4 separate regions of the Homo sapiens genome follow, and all the other regions are linked to region 1. Evidence: promoter capture Hi-C in 16 types of primary human blood cells and fetal thymus (Javierre and others, 2016). All regions are on one chromosome and are shown on one strand. The core of a region is centred on a gene start or on the middle of the fragment in contact, and the rest is flanking DNA. Distances in the headings are between cores, read along the strand shown. Region 1 holds the start of LINC00842 (long intergenic non-protein coding RNA 842). Region 2 has its middle 4.5 kb from the start of FAM25C. Region 3 holds the start of LOC105378283 (a long non-coding RNA gene). Region 4 has its middle 75 kb from the start of OR13A1.

Region 1 (6,775 bases), core at 3,128-5,627:
CGGCTGCCTTTTTGACACGTCCTCCCATGACCTTTCCTCTGTGCTTACACCTGGTCACGGGGGGAAGAGCTCTCTCTCTCTCCTGCTCTTTTCATAAGATCACTATACCATCATGAGGGCCCCGCCCTCATAACCTCATCTAATCCTAATTAGCTTCCAAAGGCTCATCTCCAAACACCAGCAAACTGGGGGTAAGGGCTTCAACAATACACAATCAGACTGTAACACAGCAAGGCAGGGGCCCTTCGGGAGTTTAACAACCTTTTAGTAGTTGTATCAGTGTGCGTCTCTTGGATCCCAGCCCTGGGTGAGAATTCTTATTCCTTTTCTTTCAGTTCAAGTCCTGCTTTGTGTGCAGACTTGCTTTCAGTTCTGAGCCATTGCCTAGCTGCTTTCTGCCAAAGCTCTTTAGAAAGGACTTAGAGGGGCCAGGCGTGGTGGCTCAGTCTGTAATCCCAGCACTTTGGGAGAACGAGGCGGGCAGATCACGAGGTCAGGAGATCGAGGCCATCCTGGCTAACACGGTGAAACCCTGTCTCTACTAAAAAATACAAAAAAATTAGCTGGGCATGGTGGTGGGCCCCTGTAGTCCCAGCTTACTCGGGAGGCTGAGGCAGGAGAATGGCGTGAACCCGGGAGGCAGAGATTGCAGTGAGCAGAGATAGTGCCACTGCACTCCAGCCTGGGTGACAGAGCGAGACTCTGTCAAAAAAAAAAGAAAAAAGAAAGAAGAAAGAAAGGAAGGAAGGAAGGAAGGAAGGACTTAGAGGATCTCTCTGCCCTGCAAGCTCCCCTGACCACTGGTTCGATGGGTTCTTTTGCAGCCCACCCCAAAACAGGCCTCATGTGGCCAAACAGGAGCCTTGAGAAGAGCTGCAGCCAAGGAAATTTGGTCAAGTCCAAGTACATGCCCAGCAAGGGGATCTGCTTAAGCAGAGTCATGAAGTTGATCATCTCCCCTGATGGGGCAGAATGGACATCACCCCCACTGCCTCCCTGCCAGCAGAGAAATGTGGGACAGGCCTGGAAGCAAGAGGTCTCCTCAGATTAGAGGGGAAGCTCTCTCTGCCTGGGGTCAGAGCTGGAGCAGCATGGGTGTAAGGGGTCACGGCCCCATGTGCTGACTCCCACCAGGTGACCCCCATGGCACCTGGGGAAGGAAGCAAAGGGGCCCTGGCCAGGACACCAGCAGCATCCACAGCACCTGCTAATCATTTTTGCTGGAGTAACCTTTTGGGCACTTCTGGTAAAGCAGACACGCTCCACAGGTGCTTTTGCAATTGCTCTTTGGAATTTGTTAAAAACACACCTATGTTTTTAAAGATAATTTGGAGTCTGCCCAGTTTAATTTCAGCATAGGGGAAAAATAAGGGAATAGTGACAAAGTTTCTTTGCTTGAGCAAACTTGAGTCAGGCTCCTGAACCTTCTAGGCTCATCTGTGTACTTTCTTGTAAAATTCAATTTGAGCAAGAATCCCACTAAGTCAATTCAGCAAGAACTCCCCTTGTTCCTATCTGACCACTCCCAATATCCGATCAGGGTCCTCATCCTCCACCTTCCCAGGTGATGTCTGGTCACCCTGGCCTTTCTTCAGCAGGTCTCCTGTTAGGTCAGTTTAGCCAGCATCACCCTCACCCCTGGCATTTCCTCTTGGTAATTTTCCATCTTTCAACTCCTACCTGCTCCATGGCTCCAAGTCTCAACTTCTCATGCTGTTTTTAGAATCAGCCTGACTGTATATTGAGGTCTCTTTTCGCTTATTGCAATAGTCCTGAATAAAATCTGGTTTTACTACTTTATCGTCTAGCTCTGGTTTTTCTTTGCCATAGGTATTCCCTACCTGTAGCCTTGCCATAGCTCTATCATCGTTGCTTTTTAATTCCCTCCAAGAGATGATATCTACATATACTCCTTCTCTATCCTCAGATCAATGTTTTGCATTTCCTAGGAGCTGAATTCCTTTTCTTCCATTGCAGCACTGGCTGGGAGAGAAGGCACAACATGGTCCAGCATACTGAGCCCCAAGTTTGTCCTGCAGCATGATTTGAGACACAGTGTTCGTGCCGCACAGAATTCTGTGAGCCGTCCAATAGCCTTTCATACATTTGTTTTCTGCTTAAACTACAGAGTAGATGCTCTTGTCAGCACCTAAGAACACCCTCTATTACACAGAACTACACCCTAATGACATTTTATCTGTTTACGTGTCCTCTCAGAAAAGCTGTGAGCCCCTTGAAGGCAGGAACTTTATTTGTTTTTAAACATTCAGGGCCTAGTAGATAGCAGGCTTTCAACAAATATTTTTGAATAACAACAAACAAGAGTATGGACTTTGGGAACAGGAGAGCCTAGTAGCCAGCGAGCCTGAGCCAATCCTTGATGGCCTCCAATTCTGAGAAGAATCTCTGGGCCCCCTTAGGCTCCCTGTGGAAGAAAGCTTACCCAGTCAATCCTAATAAAAATACTTCTGAGACAGATCTAACAGGACAAAGTGGAGTCTCTCCACTCTTTCAGTAGCTCCTTCACCCCAGGTGCTGTTTGGGGTTCTGACACTGCCATGGCATGGCCAGCAGGATGGCCCCTAGGGCTCCTGGGGCTGCTCTATAAGAGCTTCCCACCCCTGACCTGCAGTCCATGAGGGCAAAGCCAGATCCGGGCACATGCCCATCCGTGTTGTTCTCATGCTCTCAGGGGGTAGAGCTAGTGTGTTGGACTTGGCATGTTTAGGGTCACCTCCCTGAGGGTTGACAACCTGAGCAAAATCAGCATTCCCTTGGCAAGGAATAAAGGGGGAATGGATTTGTGGTCAGCAACCCACCGCCAAGCATTCTGCCTGCAACAGGGTGGGGCTGGCCAGGGGAGGCTCCTCAGGGAAGGTGAAAGCTGTGCAGAGTTTTGCAGGATGACTCAGTGCTTATCAGGTAGACAGATAAGGAAGAACATTCCAGGGAGAGGGAGGAATGCTAACAACAGCAGGGGATCTGGTCTGTACTAGACATGCCAAAGGAATGGTGTGTCCATATCAACAGAGGAGGGAGAGACAGAAGAGAAAGAGCTTGTCAGGGCCTGAGTCAGAGCGGGCTCATGCTGTGGGGCTAAGAAGCTCAAATGATTTCCAGAGACAGTGGGGAAGCTTTACAGGGACAGGCAGGGGAAGATCTTAACCCGGCTTTCGTAGGCCTCTGGCTTGAGTATAGAAGGTGAGTCTGGGACAGGGAGCCCAGCGCCGAAGTGTTGCAACACTATAGGGAGACATACAGACCAATTCCCTCCCACCTAACAGCTCTGTGCTTTGGGGTCCTGGGTTAGTTTCCTGGGAGAAGGCTGGCCTTGGCTACCTCTGTCCTTGACCAAGGACATCGTTTTAAATATTTGTGATGTGTCCTAGGCCACTGCATCTCTGTCCCTGTAGCGAAGAGAAGATACTGATTCCTAAGCTCCTACTCTGAGAACACAAATATCTGCAATACCTCGGTAAGCCCTAGGCCTGAGTGTGAGGTTGCAGGCACTTCCATGGCCCCATGCAGGTGTCTAAGTTCCCTCGTGGTATTTGGCCAAGGGGGGCCCTGTGTGATGCCCTAGCGCGGTGACTACCCGTGTTCCTGGCCCATGGGCATCTTCCACGGAATTCTGGGCTTAGCCTGGGGATTCATGCGGGCGCATCTCTGTGATCTGCTCTGGAGCAGGATGTACATCAGGTCTCTCAGACCTGAGTCCCTGGTGCCTGGCGCTCAGCCTTGACTGAAGTGCTCGGCCCACCCTGCTGGGCCAGCCAGCTCCTGCTCAGGGCCACAGCCCTGTAACCACGGCTTCCTCCCCAGGACTCAGGAATTCTCCCACTCCGGAATGCCTTGCTGCTGGGGTGACCAGGTCTTCACTTGTGAAACAGGAGTCAGCCACCTCAGCCCTGCGCCTGGCCTGGTGGAACATGGGTCACCGCCCCAACCTGGGGCAGCCGCCCCATCCCAACGCAGTTGCTGCCGCTCTCCATGCCTCCCTGTGCCCAGCTAACTGGGGGACTTGTCCCCTGGGAAAACCTGGGTACCCAGGCTGCCTTTGGTTTCAGCCCCTACTCCTCTTCCCGGGCTGCCTTTGCTCCCCGGAAGACCCCTTTCCCCGGGCTGTGTTCACATCGGCTGGGAAGGGTCCCTTGCAGACAGATCTTGGACGAGGTCGCGTCCCCCCTCGTGACCAGCAAACTCCTAAAAGCGGCCCTTGCCCCAGAGCCCCTGTAGCCTCCAACCGGCAGTCAGGAGGCAGCGCCGTCTCAGCGCCGCTTAGTGGCGCCAGGCGTGCCTGGAAATCCGCTTTCGCAGCGCCCCCTCGTAGCCGCCTCCGCCCGCAGAAAGGCGTTCCCTGGACAGAGAAGCGGGCGCGCGGGGGCGGGCGCGCGGGGCCTTGCCGGAGAACCTGACTCTCCGCAGCAGCAGTGGAAGCCGGAGTGACGCGTTGTGTTGAACACCAGTTTTCTGGAGCGCTGTGTGTTCTTAACAGCTGAGCAGTCTGTTTCTCCAATCAGGTTTCAAAGCCACTTCAACTGCACTGGCCCCTGTGGGTCACTGCTGCACCGCCCTGACCCATGTGGGTCCCTGAGGAGCGACCTGCCGGGGCCACCTGGCTGGACGAAAAAGACACACCTTGGACTTAAGCCGTGAGAAAAAAACTTCATCAGTAAGAAGAATGAATAAACAGACTAGGTTGAATCCATACAATGGAATGTTAGCAGACAATAAAAAGAAAATGAACTATTGATGTCCCCTACTGCACAGCAGAAGCTCTGAATCGTGTTCCTGAATGAAAGAAGTCAGGTATGAAAGAATAAACATTGTATGATTCCATTTATATGAAAATGAATCTGTGATTTAAAAATCAGACTAGTATTAGGTTGGTGCAAAAGTAATTGCGGTTTTTGCCTTTTTTTTTTTTTTTTAATAGTTGCTTTGGGGTTTATGGATGGAGTGGCATGGTAGAGGTTAGCTGAAGGGGGCATGAAATAACTTTTTGGGGGTGCTAGAGTGTTGTAAATCTTACAGTGGGGGAGGGACAGGAGTGCAGGCATTTGACAAAACACATTGAATTGTGAAATTTAAGATTTTTGAATTTCTTTGTATGTAAATTACCTGCCAATAAAAACATGACGAATAGAGCAGTTATGAGCATTTGTGTGTAGCTTTTTGTGCAAACTTAAATTATAATTTCTCTGATAAAAGCCCAGGAATGTGATTGTTGAGTAATATGGTAAGTGCATGTTTTTTGAGAAACTGTCAATCTATTTTTGGGAGTGGCTGTGTGTATCATGTTATATTCTCACAAGCAAGGGATGAGAAATTTGGTTTCTCTGCATCCTTGCTAGCATTTGGTTTTATCATTATATTTTTATTTCAACTGCTCAAATAAGTGTGCAGTGATTTCTCATGATCTCAATTTGCATTTCCCCAAAGGCTAATGATGTTAAATATATTTCCACATGCTGATTTGACTCGGCCATGAAATGTCTCTTCATGTCTATTGCCCAATTTCTTATCAGATTTTTTTTTTTACTGTTGAGTTTTGAGAGCTCTTTATGCATTGTAAATGTGAGTCCTTTGTCAGATATGCAGTTTGCAAATATTTTCTCCCCTCCATAGCTTGTCCTTTCATCATCTTAACAGAATATTTTGCAGAGGCAAAGTTTTTAATTTTGATGAAGTCCAATTTATCAATTCTTTCTTTAATGAATCGTACTTGGGTGCCATGCCTATGAACTCATCCTCAACTCCTAGGTCCAGATGATTTTCTCCTGTGTCTTCCTATCATAGCCAGAAACTAGAAAAGAACCAAAATGTCCCTCACTAAGTGAATGCTTAAACTAAGTGACACATCTATGCCAATATTCAGCAATAAAAAGAAACATTATTCATGCAAATAACTAAATGGATGGATCTCAAGAGCATTAGGCTAAGTGAAAAAAACCAATCTCAAAAAGTCACATACTGTACGATTTCACTTGTATAACATTCTTCCAGGGGCAAAATTATAAACAGTGAAAACAGATTAGTGGTTGGCAGGCGTTAGAGGCGGTGGTGGGGAAGTGTGACTACAAAGAGGTAGCAGGAGAGATCTTGGGATGATGGGATAGTTTTGTGTCTTGGTGGTTACAGGAATCTACACATGTGATACAATGTAATAGAAGAACACACATTGTGCTAATGTCAGTTTCTTTGTTTTGATATTGTTTTGTAGAATGTAAAACGTAAACAGTGGAGAAACTGGGTGAAGGATATTGGGACCCCTTCACAAATTCTTGTCAATCTATGATTATTTGAAAATTTAAAAGTCTAAACATACATAAAATAAAAACCTAAAAGGCAAAAAAGTAATGCACGCACTTGATAAAAATCAAGTAGTACAAAAGAGTAAATGGTGAAAATAAATCTCTGCACCACTCTAGAGACCCCAGCCAAAGTCCTCTCCAAACTCTCTCACAGTTATTAAGTTTCTTGTATATGCTTCTAGAAATTCATCTTGCATATGCTTCTAGAAAATCAAGTAGTACAAAAGAGTAAGTGGTGAAAATAAATCTCTGCACCACTCCAGAACCCCCAGCCAAAGTCCTCTCCAAACTCTCTCACGATTGTTAAGTTTCCTGTATATGCTTCTAGAAATTCTCTAGGAATACGCAAAAATATATGTACTTTCCCTACTTCTCTAGCTTTTGTCTAATGCTAGTCTTCTTTCTATTTTTAATTATATGTATTTAATATATCTTTAGGAAAAATTAATACTTTTTAACAG
Region 2 (6,775 bases), core at 2,219-4,718, 1.6 Mb after region 1:
GGCCAGGAGCCAAGGAGAGGTCTTCCCATGCTCCTACTTCTGGGGTGCAGGCCTGTGGCAGGGGTCTGAGGCTCTCTCCCCAATGCAGGCTCCTGGAGCTGCTCTCCTGGATGTGTCGGGGCCTGATTAGTTTACTGGACTGTGGGCCCTCCCAGCCTGGGACTCGGGAGCTGAGACCTTCTTGCATTCCTGCATGGTGTTTGCGGGCTCCAGGGCTACGGCCAGTCCCCCTAGGGTGGACAGTGGGTATCGTGGGCAGCAGGACCTCTGGGTCTCAAGACTGTGGCCCCACACATGCCATTGCTGTCTCCTTTGGGCAGGGGTGGATCGGGGCTTCAACAATTTAGAGGGGCCTCTTTATGAAAAAGAATACAATAATATGATTCTTGCACATTTTTCATTTATATACGTATGAACTTCTGGACCCAGAAGGGGCTGTGAAAGTCGGGGGCCTGGAGCTCAGGCGGGTCCAGATGACCCTGTCCTCCTTTTGTAACAGCCAGAGTCCAGGATGCTTTGCCCAGGGCATTGGGCTGGCACTGCAGAGGCCTGGGGGATGGGGGGACACCTGGGACATGGCTGGTGGGAATTGTTCTAGGAAACCTCAGGGATTCTCCCTGGACCTGTCAAAGCCCCTTCCCTGTTTCTTCTGAGGCTGTGTGTCCCCCCACTCGCACAAGGGTCCTTTCTATGCCTGCTCCCCTGATAAATGTCATCTGCCTGCTCTAGAATGGCTTCCAGACCCCACAGACCCCCTCCTCATGAGCTCCCACCCTAGGGTACTCTCCACCAGTCCGCGCTTTCAGGAGCTCACCAGACCCAGACAGCCTGTTGTCAGAGCTCATCCACACAGCAGGACCCTGGCCCACTGCCCAGCCCAGAGCCAGGCCCACCACGGCCTCTGGGGACAACTGCCCTTCCCCCCACCCCCTCCACATGGTCCCTTGCCCATGAGACCCTGCCCTGCTAATTTAATGCACTGCCTTGGTGTGAGCACTGTGATTCTAATGACAACACACCATGGCCTTCTGGGCGAGGCTGGGTCCAGACACAGATCCCAAATGCCTGCTGGGGAGAAGGCAAGAGGCCCGGGGAGGCCCAGGACAAGACATGGGTCCCAGGCCCTGGTGCCCTCCCTCTTGGCCTTCCAGCTGCTGCTGCTGTGACCAGATTCCCATTCACCCAGCCCCGTCCATGGGCCCCAGCAAGCCATCTGTGCCCCACAGAGGGCAGACCCCTAAGAGTGGGACCCCTTTCTAGCCAAAGAACATGAGATAGCCCCAAATCCTCCTAAACATGATGGATCCTGGTCTGAGGGGCTGGGCTCAGGTGACTCCTGCAGGGAACTTCACCTGCCTGGATGAGGTCAAGTGTGAATCAGGTGGGGCCTGCCCTCCACCACCCCATCATGGAAGAGGTCCAGCCCACAGTGGGCCCAAGAGGGCCGCCCTTGGACCTAGGGACCCAAGTCAGCATATCCTGAGTCAGAAGGTCAAGTCCAGCCTCCCCTCAGGCAGGGAGAATCTGGCTTTGACAGGAGCAGATAAATTCTCAAGGTGGAATTTGCCCAACATACTAGTTTGGCAAGGGACTAGCTGGCTGAATCATTGAGTCAAGGACAGCCAACGTTTCCAATAGCAATTTGCCAACTTAGCAATTACCAATTCTGAAAAACAATTTGTTTATTTGAAACACTTAAATACTTAGGCTGTCTCATGTCTGAAGCATGATGATGCCTTGCGTGATTTAAAGGACAGACGTCACGAATGCCAAGAGTTTTGTGGCGGTCCATCCTGCCAGTGTCTTCTCCCACTTTTGTTCTGTGGATTTGAGCTCACAGTTTGTGCTGTGCCCACCGCCTGCCCACCCTAACGAGACTCCTGGAGACTTGGCTGGCCAGTCACCAGAGGAAGAGGGGCCCAGCAGCACGCCAGCATTCACCCACCTGTGGGTATCAGTCAGGCTCCTGGTGGAAGCCAGAGGACATATTCGAATGGGTATTTGAGGAAAGGGGCTGTTCACAGAAGTGTGGACCGAGTTAAGGGAACCAATAAGAGATGAGGAATGTCCTGGACCAGCAAGAGTGGGAGCTGTTATCTCCCTGGGTCTAAAGGGACAGGAAAGGTGTCCACAGATCCCAAAGAGAGCTGTGGCTGTAGAGGAGGATCATCAGGAGCTGCAGCCATCAGTAGAAAGATGTGGCCACTGCCAAACCAGCAAGGAAGAATCTGAGCGAATAACCACCTCTCCTCTCTCTCTCTCTCCCACCTCCTATGACGTCCTCCACTGTGTGAATTCCACTAGGGCCAGACAGTGAGGCACCCTGGTGATGCAGTCCAAGAGGGAGTGGGCAGAGAGGAGCCAGTGGGTATGGAGGGGAAACAGAGAAACAGAGAATTCCAGCTCACTCTGCGGGATTTCTGGGTCTGATAGAAACATGGCATTATTATTATTATTATTATTATTTATTATTATTTTGAGATGGAGTTTTGCTCTTGTTACCCAGGCTGAAGTGCAGTAGCATGATCTCGGCTCACTGCAACTTCTGCCTCCCACGTTCAAGAGATCCTCCTGCCTCAGCCTCCCGAGTAGCTGGGATTACCGGCACATGCCACCATGCCTTGCTAATTTTTGTATTTTTGGTACAGATGAGGTTTCACCATGTTGAACAGGCTGGTCTTGAACTCCTGACCTCAGGTGATCCACCTGCCTCGGCCTCCCAAAGGGCTGGGATTACAGGCATGAGCCACTGTGCCCAGCCTGCAGCAGCTTAATTTTACAGTGTCCCTTTTCTCCTTCTGGAAACTATATGGGGCAACAACAAGACTGAGGAGGAAGAGGAGGAGGAGGAGGAGGAGGAGGAGGAAAAAGCCCATCATCAATACACACATCAAACTCAACTTCAGAGAAATTAGGAAGCTGGGAAGCCACGTAAACCCAAAAGCAGGAGACACCAGCAGAACCAACGCAGGAAGCCAGGGAAGTGCAGAAGAACAGGGCATGGGGGGCAACCCAGGGGGGAATCTTCACTATTGCCAGCAACACACATTCCCAGCAGGAGAGGACCCTCAGAGTGAGAACGCAGAGCTGGAGAAGTGAAGAAGGAGCAGGTGGTGCCCGGGGAAGTCCAGGGGTGTGGGATCTGAGAGCACCCCTTCCCAAGAGAGGCGGGAACACTTGGGAAGGCAGGGCTGAGTCCCTGGAGGCTGTATCTGGGAAAGGAGGCTGGCAGTAGAATCTTCCTGAAGGCGAGTGGGTTCTGAGAGGCAGAGGGGCAGTGGTACAGAGGTGAGGCTGACGCTTCTGTGCAGGAAGGTCAGGCTCCTGAGGAAGGGAGCCCCGAATGCTCTCCACTAGATTCCCAGGGAGCCCCACTCCCTCCACAGGGACCTCGCGCTGACATCTGGGAAATGCCATTCATACTGGAACGTCCAACACACTGCCATGAATGTGAGGGTTTTGTGACTGATGGGGTAGGTTTCTCTCTTCCAACTTAATAGTATAATGTCCATTTATTCCTCCCCCAGCCTCCCTGAACATGCACCTCTTAGATAGCCACAGTACGGTGATCAGAACCAGGAAATCCACATTCTCATATTTAACTATATTAAAATTATTTCACAAAATAACCAATTTTATTAATTTAATTAAATACATTTAACTAATGTTTAAATATATTTAAATAATTTAACTGATTTAAAATGAACATATTCGCTAAACAAAAGACCTTATTGGAGTTTCACCACTTTTTCCACTAATGTCCTTTTTCTGTTCCCAAATTCCACCCAGGATCACGCTGCATTTAGTTATTTCTTAGTCTCTCGCCATTTTGTAGGACTGCAATAACAGTTCCTCAATCTTTCCTTATCTTTCATAACCGTGACATCTTGAACCAGTACTGATCAGTATTTGTGAAATGTTCCTCGATTTGGGATTGTCTGATGTATTTCCATGATTGGACTGAAGTTACGAACTTTTGGCAATTACAGCACAAAAATGATGTGGAATCCTTCCCAGTGCATTCCATCAGAGTTATGGCATTGATAGTTCTTCTTACTGATGATGTTGAACTTGTTCATTTGGTTCAGGTTTCTGCTGGGTTTCTCCATTGTAAAGTTACTATCTTTCCCCCTCATAGGGGGAAAGATCTTAGGAGAAATACTTGGAGACTATGAAAATTTTGTATTTTCTCAAACTTTAAAATTTTTTTTCAGGCCAGGCACAGTGGCTCACGCCTGTAATCCTAGCACTTTGGGAAGCCGAGGTGGGTGGATCACCTGAGGTCAGGAGTTCAAAACCAGCTTGATCAACATGGAGAAACCCCATACCTACTAAAAATACAAAATTAGCCAGGCATGGTGGTGCATGCCTGTAATCCCAGCTACTCAGGAGGCTGAGGAAAGAGAATTGCTTGAACCCGGGAGGAGAGGCTGCAGTGAGCTGAGATCGTGCCATTGCACTCCAGCCTGGATAACAAGAGCAAAAGTCCATCACAAAAAAAAAAAAAAAAAAAAAAAAAAAAAAAAAAAAAGGCCAGGCGCAATGGCTCACACCTGTAATCCCAGCACTTTGGGAGGCCAAGGTGGGTGGATCACCTGAGGTCAGGAGTTGGAGACCAGCCTGACCAACATGGAGAAACCCCATCTATACTAAAATAAAATACAAAATTAGCTGGGCATGGTGGTGCATGCCTGTAATCCCAGCTACTCAGGAGGCTGAGGCAGTAGAATTGCTTGAACACGGGAGGTGGAGGTTGCTGTGAGCCGAGATCCTGCCATTGCACTCCAGCCTGGCCAACAAAAGCAAACCTCCATCTCAAAAAAAAAAAAAAACAACAAAACACCTATTTTGACAGCCGGGCATGGTGGCTCACACCTGTAATCCCAGCACTTTGGGAGGCCAAGGCAGGCGGATCACCTGAAGTCAGGAGTTCAAGACCAGCCTGGCGAACATGGTGAAACCCCGTCTCTACTAAACATACAAAAATTAGTTGGGCATGGTGGCATGTGCCTGTAAGTTCCAGCTACTTGGGAGGCTGAGGCAGGAGAATCACTTGAACCCAGAAGGCAGAGGTTGCAGTGAGCTGAGACGGCGCCATTGCACTCCAGCCTGGGCAGCAGAGTGAGGGATCTCAAAAAATTATAATAAAAAAATAATAATTCTATTTTGAATTGTGGTAAAATATACATAAAATTTACTACCTTAACCACTTCTAAGTGGCAGTTGGAACAGGGGTCAAGGAGAGCCCTTGGGTTGGGTAATGTAGAGTATATTCACATTGCCATGCAACCAATCTCCGGAACTTTCTCATCTGACAAAACCAAAACTCTATATCCACTAAGCAACTTCCCATTTTCTCCCTTCCCCATGTCCCTGGCAACCCCCGTTCTACCTTCTGTTTCTATTAGTTTGCTTACTCAGTCTGGACGCTTCACATAAGTGAAGGAACACAGTATTTGTCTTTTTCTAACTGGCTTATTTCACTTAGCATAATGTCCTCAATGTTCATCCATGTTGTAGCATGTGTTAGAATTTCCTTCCTTTTTAAGGCTGAAGAATATTTTATTGTATGTATATACCACATTTTATCAATTCATCTGCCTATGGACAATTCGGCTGCATCCATCTTTTGACGAGTGTGAATACCACTGCTATAAATATCAGTGTACAAATATTTCTATGAGACCTTGCTTTCAATTATTTTGGCTATATACCCAGAAGTGATATTGCCGGATCATTTGGTAATTCTATTTTCAATTTTTTGAGAAACTGCCTGTCCTGTGCTGAGCAGGTCTATATAAACCTACCCGCAAAGGCCAAGGAACCTGAGATACCAAAGAAAGAGGCTGACAAATCCAGTTTCTCAGAAAGAAACATTTAATAGGCGTTTATGAACAGAAGGCAAGTCAGGGATGGCACCAAGATAAGATGGTGGATCCCTGTGCCATCACCCCCACCCCCCCGACCCAGGGCTTCTATAGCATAGGGGAAGGGTAATGCGGGCTTCAGCAGGGATGTGTATGGCCAGACACGGTGGCTCACGCCTGCAATCCCAGCTCTTTGGGAGGCCAAGGTGGGCGGATCACCTGAGGTCAGGAGTTCCAGACCAGCCTGGCCAACACGGTAAAACCTCGTCTCTACTAAAAATACAAAAATTAGCCAGGCGTGGTGGCAGGCGCCTGTAATCCCAGTTACTCGGGAAGCTGAGGCAGGAGAATCGCTTGAGCCCAGGAGGTGAAGTTTGCAGTGAGCTGAGATTGTGCCACTGCAGTCCAACCTGGGAGACAGAGTGAGACTCGGTCTCAAAAAATAAAAAATATATTTTTTAAAAAGATAAAATAGAAATCATAGATGAAGTCTTGGAACTGGGATTAATCAGAATATGGCAGATTAGCATCCAAGATGGAATTGCTTTATTCTCATTCAAGGTTTCCCTCATTCTTCACTCTCCCCATGCTGGTCACCTTGCTGTTTGTTCCTCGAACACATATGAAATGCGTTTCTGTCTTGGCAGTCATCCTGCTACCTGTAATGTCAGCACTGCTTTCTGTTGTCCCTTCAGTCAGGTCACTGTTCAAATAGCTCTCTAGACAGGCTCTTCCTTATCATTCTACTTAAAATAGCCCCCAATCACTCTGTGTCCCTTTAGCCTGCTTCCTCTTCCTGCTATTTCATACTACCTGAAAAAATACTTGAACTTCCTAGAACATAAGCTCATAAAAGCAAGAACTGTGCTCCACCTCTCCTCTCCTCTACCCCAGCACTCAGAAGAGAA
Region 3 (6,775 bases), core at 2,069-4,568, 1.2 Mb before region 1:
GAATAGCTTGAACCCAAGAGGTGGATGGAGGCTGCAGTGAGCCAAGATCATGCCACTGCACTCCAGCCTGGGCAACAGAGCGAGATTCTGTCTCAAAAAACTAAATAAATAAAAAATAAATGATTTTAATAAAGATTATAGCTAAAATTACAGGTTCTCCCCAGCTCTTTTATCTTTCCCCCAAAGAAGGTCTACATGGATGGCATGTGTTCCAGGCTTAACAAGATTTTGAGACAGCTCTTCCAGATAACCCATGATCATATTTGTTTATTATTTTGCCTGGTCCTTTAGAAAGACCACTTCCTTGAAAGCAGGTTGTTTTCCAAGATTTATCTGAAAAGTGTCAGTCTAACCTGGAAAAAAAATAATAAAGGCTTGACCACCCAGAGAGGGCAATAAACTTGAAGAGATTAAAAAATTAGGAAACAAACAAGAGAAATGAAAGAAAGTTCCTCTGGCTGCAGCTGGGATTCTGTCTCTATGGAAATGGAAGCTGATTACAGGGCCCTTCAAAAAAAAATCAGCTTCATCAACCAGCTGAAGACAGTTGCTGCTTGGGAAAGAGTTTCTACAGTGAAATCTCTTTAATACACAAAATCAGCAGCATTACAATTATGCCTGGAAGCTTTTTTTTTTTTTTTTTTAAAGAGACAAGGTCTTGTCCTGTTGCCTAGTAACAGGATCATAGCTCACTACAAACTCAAACTCCTGGGCTCAAGCAATCCTCCCACTGTAGCCTCCCTAACAGCTAGGACTGCAGACTTGCACACCACCCTCAGCTTGTTTTTTTAAATTTTTGTAGACATGGGGTCTCACTCTATTGCCCACACTGATCTTCTTGGAAGCTTTGAGAATGTGTGTGCAAATTACATGTCATGTTAAAACAAAAAGAAGGAAAAGAAATAAATCAGGACAAATTTTAAATAAATAGCTATCTATATCAATTAGAACCCTAGGCAAAAGTACCAAACACTACAGGTTCTAATAAGCCACACAAAAAATCCCAACACCATTACAAATGCCTTACCCAGTCTAGTTAATGAAGCGAAATTCTTAGTTCAGGCCATTGACTATGTTGGAACTGGGTATGTCTGAGGCATTTGGGCCTGTAGCTGGATATTCACATTAATAGTTAACATTTAATGTACATTATTGCATCTAACACTAACTAGTTAATAACTAACATTTAATGTGCATTATTGCCTTTAAAGTGAACCATTAAACCAGTCTTATGAAGTGGTTACTTAGGTTACCATTGGTTAAGGAACTTGAGGATCAGGGAGGTTAAGTAGCTTCTCTAAGGTTACATAGTACTAAGTAGCAGAATTTGAACCCACATCTATCCAAATCCAAGTTCCCCTCATATGCTCCCTGTATTCCTCTGCCTCTTACGGTAGGAACTGAGCATTTCAAGAATCTGGCTGGACTATAAGAAAACTGTAGAACCTGTCTAATATCTGTCTCCAGCCTAAGAAGTTTTCCCCATCAGAAAGCTCTTGGTACCTAAACTCCTCAAAACAGCTTTCAAAGGTAATTTGCTGTCTCTAAGGAAGTGCTGCGTTAGAAGATACAACTCTCCCAAGAAGAAAGACAGGCATCTCATATGCTTAGTAGTACAATACCTTACTGTTATCTTCAAAGCTTAATTCTTACCTTTTGATAAATTAAAATAATGAACGGAAAGCTTGAGATGCAAGAACTATTCTCTGTACATGCCAGTTAATTGTTCCCTGTGTTTAATCTGGATACTAATATATAAAACTTCCTGGTAACAGCTAAAATGTTATCAGTAAAGAAATATGGAGGAAGGTGTGGTGGCTCAAGTCTGTAATGCCAGCACGTTGGAAGGCCAAGATGGGAGGACTCCTTGAGCCCAGGAGTTTGAGGCCTAGCCTGGGCAGCATAGCAAGACCCCATCTCTACAAAAAAATAAAACCATTAGCCAGGCGTGGTGGTGTGTACCTACAGTCCCAGCTACTCAGGAGGCTGAGGTGGGAGGATCACTTGAGCCTGGGAGGTTGAGGCCACAGTGAGCTGTGAATGCACCATTGCATTCCAGCCAGGGTGACAGAGCGAGACCCTGTTTTCAGGAAAAAAAAAAAATTACACTTATAATTAATGTAGCCAAGTGAAATATTTTAATACTTGTATATATTAAGCACTGTGTCACTGTGTGTGCACTGCTGAGAACTGAGCCCTAGTGGAGGCTCCGAAGAGCATCCTGGAACCCCGTAGGCTCCGAGGAGTCCCGAGGTCAGGGAGTTTGCAGAGAGCAGCCTTGGGTCAATGTTACAGAAGCCAGAGGAAGTGGACTCTTGACATCTCCAAATTCACTTCCACCCAGCTTCCCAAAAAGCACTATTATTCTTCATTAGCTTCTTCTTTAGGAAAATTTAAGAATGATCTTGCTTTTCAGTACCCAATACTGAAATTTACTTCAGGAAGCAAGTGGCTATCTTTTCTTCCCTAATAAAAGCAATGGCTTCAAAGAGATAATAGAGCTCAACCGAAATAGCTAAGCCATTCTCCCCATTTATAAATATCACATAAAGTCTCCTCTTCAAAAGCTGAAGGGTATAAAGCTCCTCTGCTGAAAGCAGCCTCTCTCTTCTACCCAGTGAGAACGAGTGCTGGAGGGAGGAAAGCCATGGGGGCCAAGGGTCCCGCTATGCCAGGCATCATCTTCCCTATCCCCTTCTCTTTCTCCTCTGTATCAACAGTGCTCCCAATAATGACCATGATCATGGCAGAGCTGGGCAGGGGCAGCAAGGGACACACCTAGATCTTCAGTTCCAGAGGCATCTGTTCTGTTGCTGACAGCGAGGACCCTTACGGAATGCAAGAGACCAACACACACCAAGGCTGAGAAGCTAACTAGTACACAACCTAAGTTTAATGGCACGTATTTTCATAAAGGCTATGAAACGCAAATCAACTACATTTCCTCCCTTTTCCTTCTGCCAAGACGTATTAATGGCATCAACTCCAATCTCTATCCCAGGCAGGTTTTCAAACCGGGAAAAGCATGGCTTCACAGTAAACCTGACTCTGCCATTCTTTCCATGTCTCAATGGCTTTCCATCACCTTTCAGGGTCTCCTGAACATCTCCCTTCTTCTCTCGTCACATCCTGGACGTGATCTCACACACTCATGGGCCTAATCCATCATTCTTTCATTTTTTTTCATTCCTCAAACTATTTTTGAGCATCTACTGTGCTCCAGGCACTATTATAAAAAAAAAAAATGCAAGCATGAACATTGCACTGCTTTTGTCTTCCCAATGTCCCAGTGGAGAAGGGAGACTTCTAGATTAAAAAAAAAAAAAATCATTACAATCCTACGTGACAGAAGTCACAAAACAAGGCACACGTCCAACTTCACAGGGCAGGGAGTGGCTATGTTAGCTTGGTGCAGACAGAGAAGATTTTACACAGGTGGTGATGTCTAAGCTGACTCTTAGAAGTAAAACGATTTCAGGTGAAAAAGACTGAGGGTGAGAGAAAACAGAATTCGTAAAAGCACCAAGATCTGAACAAGTAGGCTCCGGTCCAGAAAGGACAATAAATTCAGAATGGCTGAAATGCCAACTGCATGGAAGGGTAAGGTAGTGTTCAGATTCGGAAAGGCCTTGTGCATCACGCCTAGAAACCTGGAGCATTACAGTCGGTAACGGACAACCTGGAAAAGTGTGGAGAGGGTTTAAACCAAAGCCACGTCAGCCTGAAGGGCGTCCGGGTGCAGGGAGGGGATGGGGCAGGGCAGGGGACTGGGAAGGGTCCAGCCCCGGTCCGGCCACGCAGAGAGAAGCAACCCCAAGTGCGACGCCGCACACACTCACCGCAGAGGGCAGCCCCTAAGAGGGTGGGCGTGCAACCACAGGCTTCGGCAGGACGCACTCCGGCTGCGACAGATGCCCTCGTTCCCTGCTACACCTGCACTAAATAACTAACACGCCCTGTCTCGGCACACCGCGCAGCTGCCAGCTCCACGCCCGAACCTACCCATATTAAGAGAACAGCTCGCTAGGCGTGGCTCCAGGGCCAGGTTCCGCCCTTAAAAGAATATGGAAGAGGCTGGCCAATCACGTACGTTATTCGGCTTCGAGACCCCGCGCCACGCTGAGGTTAATTTATCGCCGTGGCGAACACTCCGCGGTTTGGAACTCTGATTGGGCCGAGCTTGGCGCGTGCGCGCGATGTTTGGCGCGTGTTCAGTTGATGGGTCGAAGCCCAGAGGGCTGTGGGGGAAAGCAGAGAAGTTTATGGCGCGACTGCGCAAGGGAGGGTAATGGCTGAGGGTGGGTGTTGCGAAAGCTGGAAGTAAATTGCCTTCGAATGTTTCGCTTCTGTAACTGCGGCTCCACTCGCCAGAAGTTGCTACCCTGAGTCCCACAATGTGCCTCTGAAGGACCTTGTGGGGCACGCAGCCTCTCGCCCTATGAAGAGCTTCTCCAGACAGGAATTCTGGCGTGGTCTACGTTTCTCCAGCGCCCCGCTGGAAATCTTTTTTGACAGGTTTCTAAGGCTGGCTTTTACCCCTGACCCTTTTGCCCTTAAGCAACAAGAACCACCCTCAGGGCTGGAAGCTACAAGTAAAACCCTACCATTTAAAGGTCATTTGAAAACACCACTAAAGCGATGTCTTTCCCGACTATGACTTTTACATCTGTGAAACATAACATTCTGGCTCCCAGGAACCTCCCGCTTTCTCTTCCAAAAGCAACCAAATTTTAAATTCTAGCAAAACTGCTGCCCTCTGCCTCCCTCTTTCCTGACCCAGTCTGTTACCCAGCAATATCCTGTGCTTCTCTCACCAAAAACCCTGTCCTGAGAGACAATTTCATACTATGGAATAAAGATTGGCACCAGGCACTTTTCTCCTATTGTCACCTAAATTGATGATAGACGGATACCACACATGCATTTATATATTGTAGATTGTAGCGGGGATCAAAGCTTTAAGGAGATGTAAAATAATGTAATTCTAGCCCTGAACCAATTGGATTAAAAAAGGATCTGCACTCTTAAATTCGAAAGCAGAAACTTATTGCTTAAAAAACATTCCAGATGAAAGGGTTATTCCTGCATTAGTCTTCTTTGATCTGGAACCGTTCCTTGGCTTTTATATTTATTGAAATGACGTTATTTAAGAGTACAGACCAGGTATTGTGTGGAATATCCTTTAAAGTGAGTTTGTCTGATGTTCCCTTTCAGGTTATGAATTTTTGGAGAAACACCACTAAGTGATGTGTCTTTTCCAGTGCATGTTATCAAGGTAGAGATAACATCGGTTTCTCCCAGTATTGATGATGTTCACTTGGTTAAGGTGGTGTCTGCGAGGTTTCTTCACCATAAAGTTACTATTTTTTCTTTATGATTAAAAATAATGCTGGGGGGAGGTGCTATTGGATTACGTCCCTTTTCTCATCTAATTTTTACCTAGTAGTTTTAGCATCCACTGATGATTTTCTAACTTCATAATTTCATCTGTATGTATTAGTTGGTAATCTCCTAATACATTTATTTCTTGAATCACTAACTCTTCTAAAGCAAAAGAACTTTCTTGAAAAAATTAGAATTGTTCTTGTTCCATCAGTTTCTAATAGTGAATCTTGACTGTGTAGGCTGAAGACAGTAGTACCTGTATTAATCGGCTAGTGCTGTCGTTACAATATACCACAGACCGGATGGCTTAAACGACAGAAATTTCTCACAGTTCTGGAAGTTCAAGATCAAGGTGCCAGCAGATTTGATTTATCCTGTGGACTCTCCCCTTGGCTTGTGGATGACTGTCTTCTCTTGGTGTCCTTCCAGGGTATTTTTCTCTGTGCAATCACACCCTTGGTGTCTCTTCCTGTTATAAGGACACCAGTCCTATTGGACAGCCCCACTCTTGTTTCTCTATAATAACACCCTGTTTTTGTTTCATAAATGTACTCTCTTCTCAAGTATCACTGAGGATAATAGTTTTTAAACCTCTCTTCTGTTCACTAAATTATGTTTCTTCAAGGCTCCATTCTTATGTGTGTTTATCTAGTCTTTCCCCTAGAAAAGAAAAATTCTTCCCCTCTCTGGTGGTTTATTCTTTGTTGTCCTTTTGAGTTCAAGTGTGAAGATCTGAAATGGTTTTTCTAGATAGCTGGAGTGGTTTCTTTCCTCTCGTTTGTGTGTATTGTTTTCCTCCTAGATCCTTGGGCTGATTGTTGAATTTCTTTAGAGGCAAGAACCCAGTGTTATGCCTGCAGGTCATCACCAGGCTACCTTTGCTGGTGGAGGGAAATGATGGATTGTCAGTGCCAGTTAAGGCAACTCCATGACTTTGGTTTTAGCTCCTCACACTGCACCTGCCAGCCCCACATCCAGATAACACCTGGAACAGAGAGTCCCAAACCTCCTGCATTTCTCTCTCAAAGTTATTTTGGGCTGCATGCCTCCATTCACTCCTGCTTCACAGGAATTTGTTTTCACTCCTGTTTGAGATAGTAAAAACCAAACTGTTTTTGCTACTCTTACACGCTCAACACTTCTGACACCAGAGATTCCCCCACACATGAAACAGTTCTCCAGCAGACACCAGCTAAGTGTCCTACAGTTTAACTTAATTCTGATACTACCTCAACTTACAGTCAAATCCCACAAGTTAAGGGTGCATTTCCACAAGACTGTCCCCTACTTTAGGTTGACTGTCACCTATACTTCTGACCACCTATAAATCAGTATTCCCACACCCCCTTCTCGGGTTTGATTAATTTGCTAGGGTGATGGTTAGCCTGTC
Region 4 (6,775 bases), core at 2,594-5,093, 1.2 Mb before region 1:
ATTTCATAAAGGTATTTCTCCTCTCTTGCATTAAATGTATTGACATGACTTAAATTTTCTTTAGCTGTTTGAAAAGTGGCCAACCAAAAATATGAGAGGATACTTACTACCCTAAAAAAGCAATTTCTCTCCAGGACTGCCAACAAATGTCAGGGCCTGTGAGAAGCACAACCATTCATATATATGCCAGAATGTGTTCATAAGTTGGATTTTTGGTAAATATTTTTCCTTAAATTGTCAATGAACTTCCTTGATGGTCAAACCAACAGTCAAAAAGTCTAACAAAATTGAATTTACAAAGGAATTTTTAAATCTTCATACCTTATATGTGCTTCATATATGAATATATATTATTTTATAAACAGAAATAATGAATAAATGTAGAATTTAAAGTAATCTGGCCAGGTGCAGTGGCTCATGCCTGTAATCCCAGCACTTTGGGAGGCCGACACGGGTAGATCACCTGAGGTCAGGAGCTCAAGACCAGCCTGGCCAACATGGCAGAACCCCGTCTCTACTAAAAATACAAAATTAGCTGGGCATGGTGGCATGCAACTGTAATCTCAGCTACTAGGGAGGCTGAGGTGGGAGAATCACTTGAACCCAGGAGGCAGAGGTTGCAGTGAGCTGAGATCGTGCCACTGCACTCCAGCCTGGGCGACAGAGCAAGACTCCATCTCAACAACAACAACAACAAAATAATTTGTACCTTCATTGTTAAAAATCTCTATTCTTAACATGAATTAATCAGTTACACAGGTAGCTAAAAAATATAAGGTTACTTTGCCTTTTTCTATTAGACACCTTATGTTTTACTCACCTACACTGCTTTCCCGTACAAAGTACAAATGTCTTACCAGAGGGTGATGAGGTCCAGATGATTTCATATCCACGATCCGAAATTACACTATTACTCTTAAATCATAGGTATAGTTCATTATTTTGAGAGAAGACAGGGTTTGGCAGCAGAGTACTTGCCAAGTAATGGTGAATTGCTGTTACTTCCATTTCTCACCTTTAGGAAGGAGTCATTCATTATTAAACTTACACTTTCTTCTCCAATGTATATACATTACACTGTGAGACAATTTGAATGATGACACTTTTTGGAAAAGCTTTGTCTTTTTATATACATAAGAATGAAGGGTTTTCTGAAAATACATGCAGAAGTCATCTTCACTTGCAAAGGGGAAAAATGTTCCATGTGTAGATCAAAAAACATTTGTATTTGGATTCAGAAATATCTGTTAACCTGTAGCAATTAAAACATCAGGCTGCTTTTTTATATAATAGTTTTTGCTATGATCCTGCAGCCTTTGCTTTTGGGGAAACATTTGGAAGAATGTAGGTAAAGTGAATTTTTAAAGGGTGGGGATGGGTGGGGGCAATGTTGCCTGCCCTGTTTCCAGTCAACTATTATACATTTTTCATAGTGTGTGTGTGTGTGTGTATGAGTGCGCGCGCACACGGGTTTCCCATTGAAAATTACTTGGCTGTAAAGGGGCTACGAAGAAAATACAATGCAAAGTATAATAAAGTTCAGAACAAAAGGAATTTCTGTATGGGTGAAGGACAGAATTATAAATCTATACAACTTCTGACTGTTGTTAAACGTGTTTTAAAAACACATTCCGAGGCCTTGTTGCTTTTTTGTTTCAACTCCTCATTTTTGAATAGACACATATAAAAACAGGAAATGAGTTGGTGTTTTGAGGGAAGAGAGAACCACACTGTGAATTCAACCATTTTCTGTCCCCCAGCCTGGCTCCTACCCTGCATTCACAACTAGACCTGCTTCCAGGAGGGCTCTCGACGCTTCTAAAGGAAACGTTACACAGGCAATGTATGTTGGAACCAGCCTGACATGTAGAAATGCTGATTTTACTGATCCATGTATTCAAAACACTGGAAGTTCCTCTCTTCCCTTTGTAATTCCATGATTTAAAATTTGGTTAATTGCTGGTATCTTAAGTCACAGAGTTAAGACAGTCTAATCTTGCTGGGCTGTGTTGATCAGGTGAGATTCCTTTTAGGTCTATGTAGTAGCCCATGGGAGAGACTAATGCCTTTCTAGTGCTTCAGGGATTATTCTGCTAAGTGTTTAAATAAAGTAGACTTGCCATGACAGAGTAGCCAGTTATCCACTAGTAGATAGGAGGGCTGCCATATTTAAGACCTTCCAGCACCATACCCTTGAGTTTGGGTGTTTTCACCCAGGGGTCCTCTTTTAAAATGGCGTTGCTCTGAGAGGAGCAGTGAGATACTAATTTTCACGGACACTGCCAACAACTTGTCTTATTCACTTTCGTCTCCTAGGAGGAATGGGGCCACCGAGAGCAGCGGGCATCCCTGCGACATCAGAGGATCCTGGAAGGGGAGGTGAAGGCATGAAAACAATCGCAGATTCCAGGCATGGTCTAGAGCTCGGCCCTCACTTGGTAGTAACACAGAATCCTCAGTCAGACATTTCTGTTCCTACGGCAGTTCACAAGAATGGAATGCTGAGGCTTCCTGGTCCAGCTGCCAATAAACTATGCCCACAGTCTTCCCACCGAGAGCCAGACGGAGCTACATTTTACAGGCCTAAGCTGTGGTTTCCTTTCTTTGCTTATGGGACAGGAAGTTTCAGATCCATTCTACGGAGTAATGAAGGACAGCGAGGAGGAAGAGTTCTTACTGTCCATGGCTGGAAAGCAAGGCTTTGCTTCCCAGCATCTATCAGGCAAATGGCAAATGTTGACTCTGATCAATAATGGTCCATTCAAGCTGGAGTGAGTTAAGAGTTAGTTGCACTGTGACTCCAACCTAACGGGATTATTCCATCTTTCATCCAGATCCCACTCTCCTCATTCTTTCTGCTTTACACTTCATATAAATATATGGATCTCCGTGGTGGGGGAGGTACGTAGGTCCAAGTTGAGTAACCTGACCGGCACAAAGAATACTGTATTTGTCTCTTCGTTTCCTCCCTGCTACATACATCTTTTGGTTTCCTGTCATGGGAATATTCCTTTAGAAAAGGCATGAGCTTCCTCTGAGTGTTATTTATGAAACTACATGTTAAGGCTATTGATTAATAAAGGATTTAGATGAATTCCAAAGGGGAGAGCTTTCCAGGATGATAAAACTGCATCAAGAATCATGTTGAAGCTAAACCCATAGGCAAAGACCATGTGCCAGAACACCCTTCCTCACCAGGCCGGGCAGAAGGTGACAGCAGCCCTAGAAGCCAAATCAGATGAGGTGGGTTGCAGGTGAGAAAAGATGTTTTGTTGGGAACAAAGGCTGCAGCTACCAAGAAACTAGCAGCTGAACAGAAGCCCACTGGAAAGAATCCTCCCACAGAAGGAAAGAAGCCTGCTGCATACACCAGTACATTTGTTTATGCTACAAAGATCAAATCATCTTGGGAAGCTTATTTTGAATGAAGACCTGATCAAAGAGGCAGTGAGAAAAAAAAATAAAACAAAAAATACGACTCCAGATCAGGTGTAGAGGAACAAGCAAACTTTTTGGAAACCTTACTGAAGCCTCTTGTATGGTGAAACAAAGCCAGTTTAGAGAGCATCGGGATGAGGTTTAGATTTAAATTCCACTCTCAGAGGAATTCAGCATCCTTATCCTTTTGAGTCTCAGGTTCCACCTGAGTTTATTTCCTAAGGATGAATGCATTTTCAACAGAGCTTGCAAAGGTCACAACCGCATGAGCTCTGGGGGGTTTTCTGGCAAAACACAGGTGCTGAGTTCCACACACTGGGTCCGCATCAGATGAGTCTTATTCAGACCGTTTCCTGCCTATGAGCAATGATATTCATGTTCCATCTCACATGCTCAATGCAGGTGATGTGGCAGAAAGAGCACAGAGGGAGCTCACCAGGGGCTCTGGAAGACCCCAAAGGTTCAGGCCCACAAGGGGCATGGCTCTGCCTGCTCCAGGTGCAAGGGGGGCTTCTCTCTCAGTGTGTCCTGGGGTGGGAGTTGGGGGTGAATGGGTGGAGAATGGGCAAACAGCAAAGTCACTTCTGTGTCCAAATGAGAGCTCTGGAGTTGTGGTGGAAAAAGGACAGACCACACTTCCTGCAACAAGGGAGCACTTTTTCAAGGCAACACTTGTCTTTAGAGGATGTTGACGATGCCCCAAACTTACTGTAGCTGTCAGGGAAATTAGGTGAGCTATTTAGTATCATTCAGTTTCATTTTACAGAATCAGCTTGTTGTTCTTAGACTTTCCTCTGATCCTTTTAGGTCTCAACTTACATATTGCCCTCTTAAAGAAGCTTTCTAGTTCCCAGACTGAGTTAGGAACCCCTACCCCTGCTGGACTCAGTTAGTCCTTTCCACATTGTGCTGTAATTGGCTATACCCCATCTGTCCTTTCCACCAGACTAGGAGTCTTCCGAGGGCCCTGAGGTTCCCAATTTCCGGTGTTTGGACTGGTGCTCTGTAAATGTTTAGGGAATGAAAGGGTAATGAATAAATTAATGAAACAAGTAAGAATCATAGAGCATTAGAAGCACTAAAGAAAAGGTGTAAAATCCATCATCATTTAAATGATATTCAAATGCATATTACCTCCAAGAAATCGTTTCTGCATTCAATTGAGTTCTCAATGCCAAACAAATGAAAAAAGAGGGTGTGGTTGTGGGGGGCTGTGAGAGTAATGGTGCAATCCATGTCACTGTCGTAGTTATCTGGCCATCCAGTACTCCTCAGGTTGCCAAATGCCTTGTGATAGTCTCTGTTGCAATCTTAGGAGAAAAATATGCATAATTAATGTATGCATTCCAGCGTTCAGTGCTCTTTCAACTTCGCAGGAATAATTCAAAAAGATCATTATATGTGAACAAACTTTAGAAAAAGGTAATCCAGCTTCTTCGTTTACCTTTGAGATAATTGAGACCCTGAGCAGTGAAGTGAATTTCAAGCAGCACACACACATGCAATGCAGCAGCTCATTCACACAAACACCCCTACAGGAAGCATGACACAGGAGCCTTCTCCTTTAAAGACGAATACTCGAGGATCCTTTGAACTTTTCTGATCACATTGAGGTGAAGTGGCTAGCATTCAGACTCTCTTTTAGACAAGGACACTACCTCCAAGACAGAGTTTTGCGCAAGGATTTTAAATCCATTTGTGAGTTATTTGTGGGAAATCGTTCTTTACCTTTTTTTTTGTAAAAAAAATCTAAAGTACTTTTGTTTGTTTAACCAAAGGCAGCTTTCATTTGAATCAATTCAAAATAAATATCAAATAAAGTGTTCTGTGAAAATAAACTTCTCAGTGATAGTAATCAGGTAACTCTTTTAAGGCTTTTTGATTTTTACAAAAATAATTTTCTAAGATTTTCAACCTTGTGAAAATACTAAAAACCTCTGAAATATAAACATTAAATGGGTAAATTGTATGACATGAGGATTATATTTTGATAAAGCTCTTGTAAATATATATATATTTCTCATAAATAAATATGTATATTCAGTGTGGTTAAGTGCGTAAATTAACAAAATAACTGGTATATTTTTAAAATCAACTACATAGACGTTGAAGAAAATGCTAGCATTCTAAGCATCTTGGTTAGTATTGTATTCTCTTTACCTCTTTAGAAACCAACTTTAGTAATTTGCTAAATTGGGCCTGGGTTCTAGTTAAGAGATGGGTGTGGTTTTTGTTAACAAATCTTAATTTACTAACGGGAGTCAATTCTAGAAATAATTGTAATTATTCTAGGAATAATTGTAATGATGGCAGCTTTTCTTAATAAAAGATGAAGTTCTGGGGCTCACCTGCTATCTGATAGGTGAAATTCATTCTAGAATTTCTGTTTAAAACTCCAGATTTGAAAATGACAATTGCAGTACTCATAGAAGAATAAAACACCGGCATAGCCAAAGCATTTCTGCCACAGAACTGAATTCTTGAATTTCCATGACTCTGAAATGAAATGGAAGCCAAGTCATGTTAGATTTATTTTAGAAGAGAACAGCATAACAGAAATTAAACTGCCTATAAAAGTATGGCTTAAATATTTAACCATGGAAACTAGCTCTGTTGTTGGAAGTGCTCTGCAAGAAGACTCACTTTGGCCTTGGAACTGATACAAGTCGCACCTTCCCAGAGGGGAGGGAGGAGGGGAGGCAAAGTTTCTGCTGAAACCACAGACACTTCCCTGCTGAAAACAAGACCCCTCCCCTCTGATGTGACTTCCTAGTCGAGGCCTGTGCCATTGCTCTGAGCACCACTGGGCTGTTTGAGAGTTCACTGGATTTCTCCTCCTGGGGCTTTTGCCAGTCCTGAGCTCCATGAGACTAACAACCATCATTGCCCTGATCCAGCCCTTGCTACCCCTTAGCAAATCTAATCAGAGCCTTTGGTTCCACTGTACATCCCCAAGCCAGCCAGGGCCTGTAATGAGGTGCTGGTTCCCCTTTGTAACACTTGGGCAGCCCTCATTACCTCTCAAAAGCCTGGAGTAAATGCAGTTGAATGCCCATCAGTTCTTGCATAAAAACAAGTTGTACCAAAGTCAGGGTATTTGCAGCCTCCCTGTCACAAGTATGTCTCTAATATCTGCAGTCCTTAGGAACCTACTGAAAGACCCAACCCACCTCTGCTTGCAAACTCCTCTTACTGCTCAGGACTTCCACTCCTCCTCCCAACCGTCTCCTGCTCTTGGTCCTTGTCTAACTTTGCTGTATCCTGTGAACTTTAACTGCACGGTCAATCATTCTCTATATACATCCCCCGCCTTTCCACTTTGTAGCCTTAGCAAAAC

The links. The method cuts DNA at HindIII sites, captures the fragments that hold promoters and counts their contacts. A CHiCAGO score of 5 or more calls a contact.
Region 2: a fragment that was not itself captured here is called in contact with the fragment with the promoter of LINC00842 in region 1 in 8 of 17 cell types (activated CD4 T cells, M1 macrophages, M2 macrophages and 5 more); the score reaches 11.1 in activated CD4 T cells.
Region 3: a contact is called between a fragment that was not itself captured here and the fragment with the promoter of LINC00842 in region 1, in 4 of 17 cell types (activated CD4 T cells, total CD4 T cells, total B cells and 1 more). The highest score is 6.0, in activated CD4 T cells.
Region 4: a fragment that was not itself captured here is called in contact with the fragment with the promoter of LINC00842 in region 1 in 2 of 17 cell types (fetal thymus and naive CD8 T cells); the score reaches 7.3 in fetal thymus.

Annotation. Positions count from the first base shown.
Region 1 is chr10:46,393,985-46,400,759 of GRCh38, forward strand. It overlaps LINC00842 (long intergenic non-protein coding RNA 842), which reads left to right and starts at 4,378. Exons shown (of 4, transcript NR_033957.2): 1 at 4,378-4,809. RefSeq lists an enhancer at 2,638-3,253. The HindIII fragment of the contact is 4,014 bases long and covers 3,137-6,775 here.
Region 2 is chr10:48,000,905-48,007,679 of GRCh38, forward strand. No RefSeq gene overlaps it. Among named protein-coding and RNA genes, the nearest start is that of FAM25C, 4.5 kb to the left of the region's middle. The HindIII fragment of the contact is 8,536 bases long and covers 1-6,775 here.
Region 3 is chr10:45,220,480-45,227,254 of GRCh38, forward strand. LOC105378283 (a long non-coding RNA gene) reads right to left here and starts at 4,031. Exons shown (of 6, transcript XR_001747443.2): 1 at 3,840-4,031. The HindIII fragment of the contact is 3,272 bases long and covers 1,683-4,954 here.
Region 4 is chr10:45,237,361-45,244,135 of GRCh38, forward strand. It overlaps the pseudogene CUBNP2. Among named protein-coding and RNA genes, the nearest start is that of OR13A1, 75 kb to the right of the region's middle. The HindIII fragment of the contact is 863 bases long and covers 3,413-4,275 here.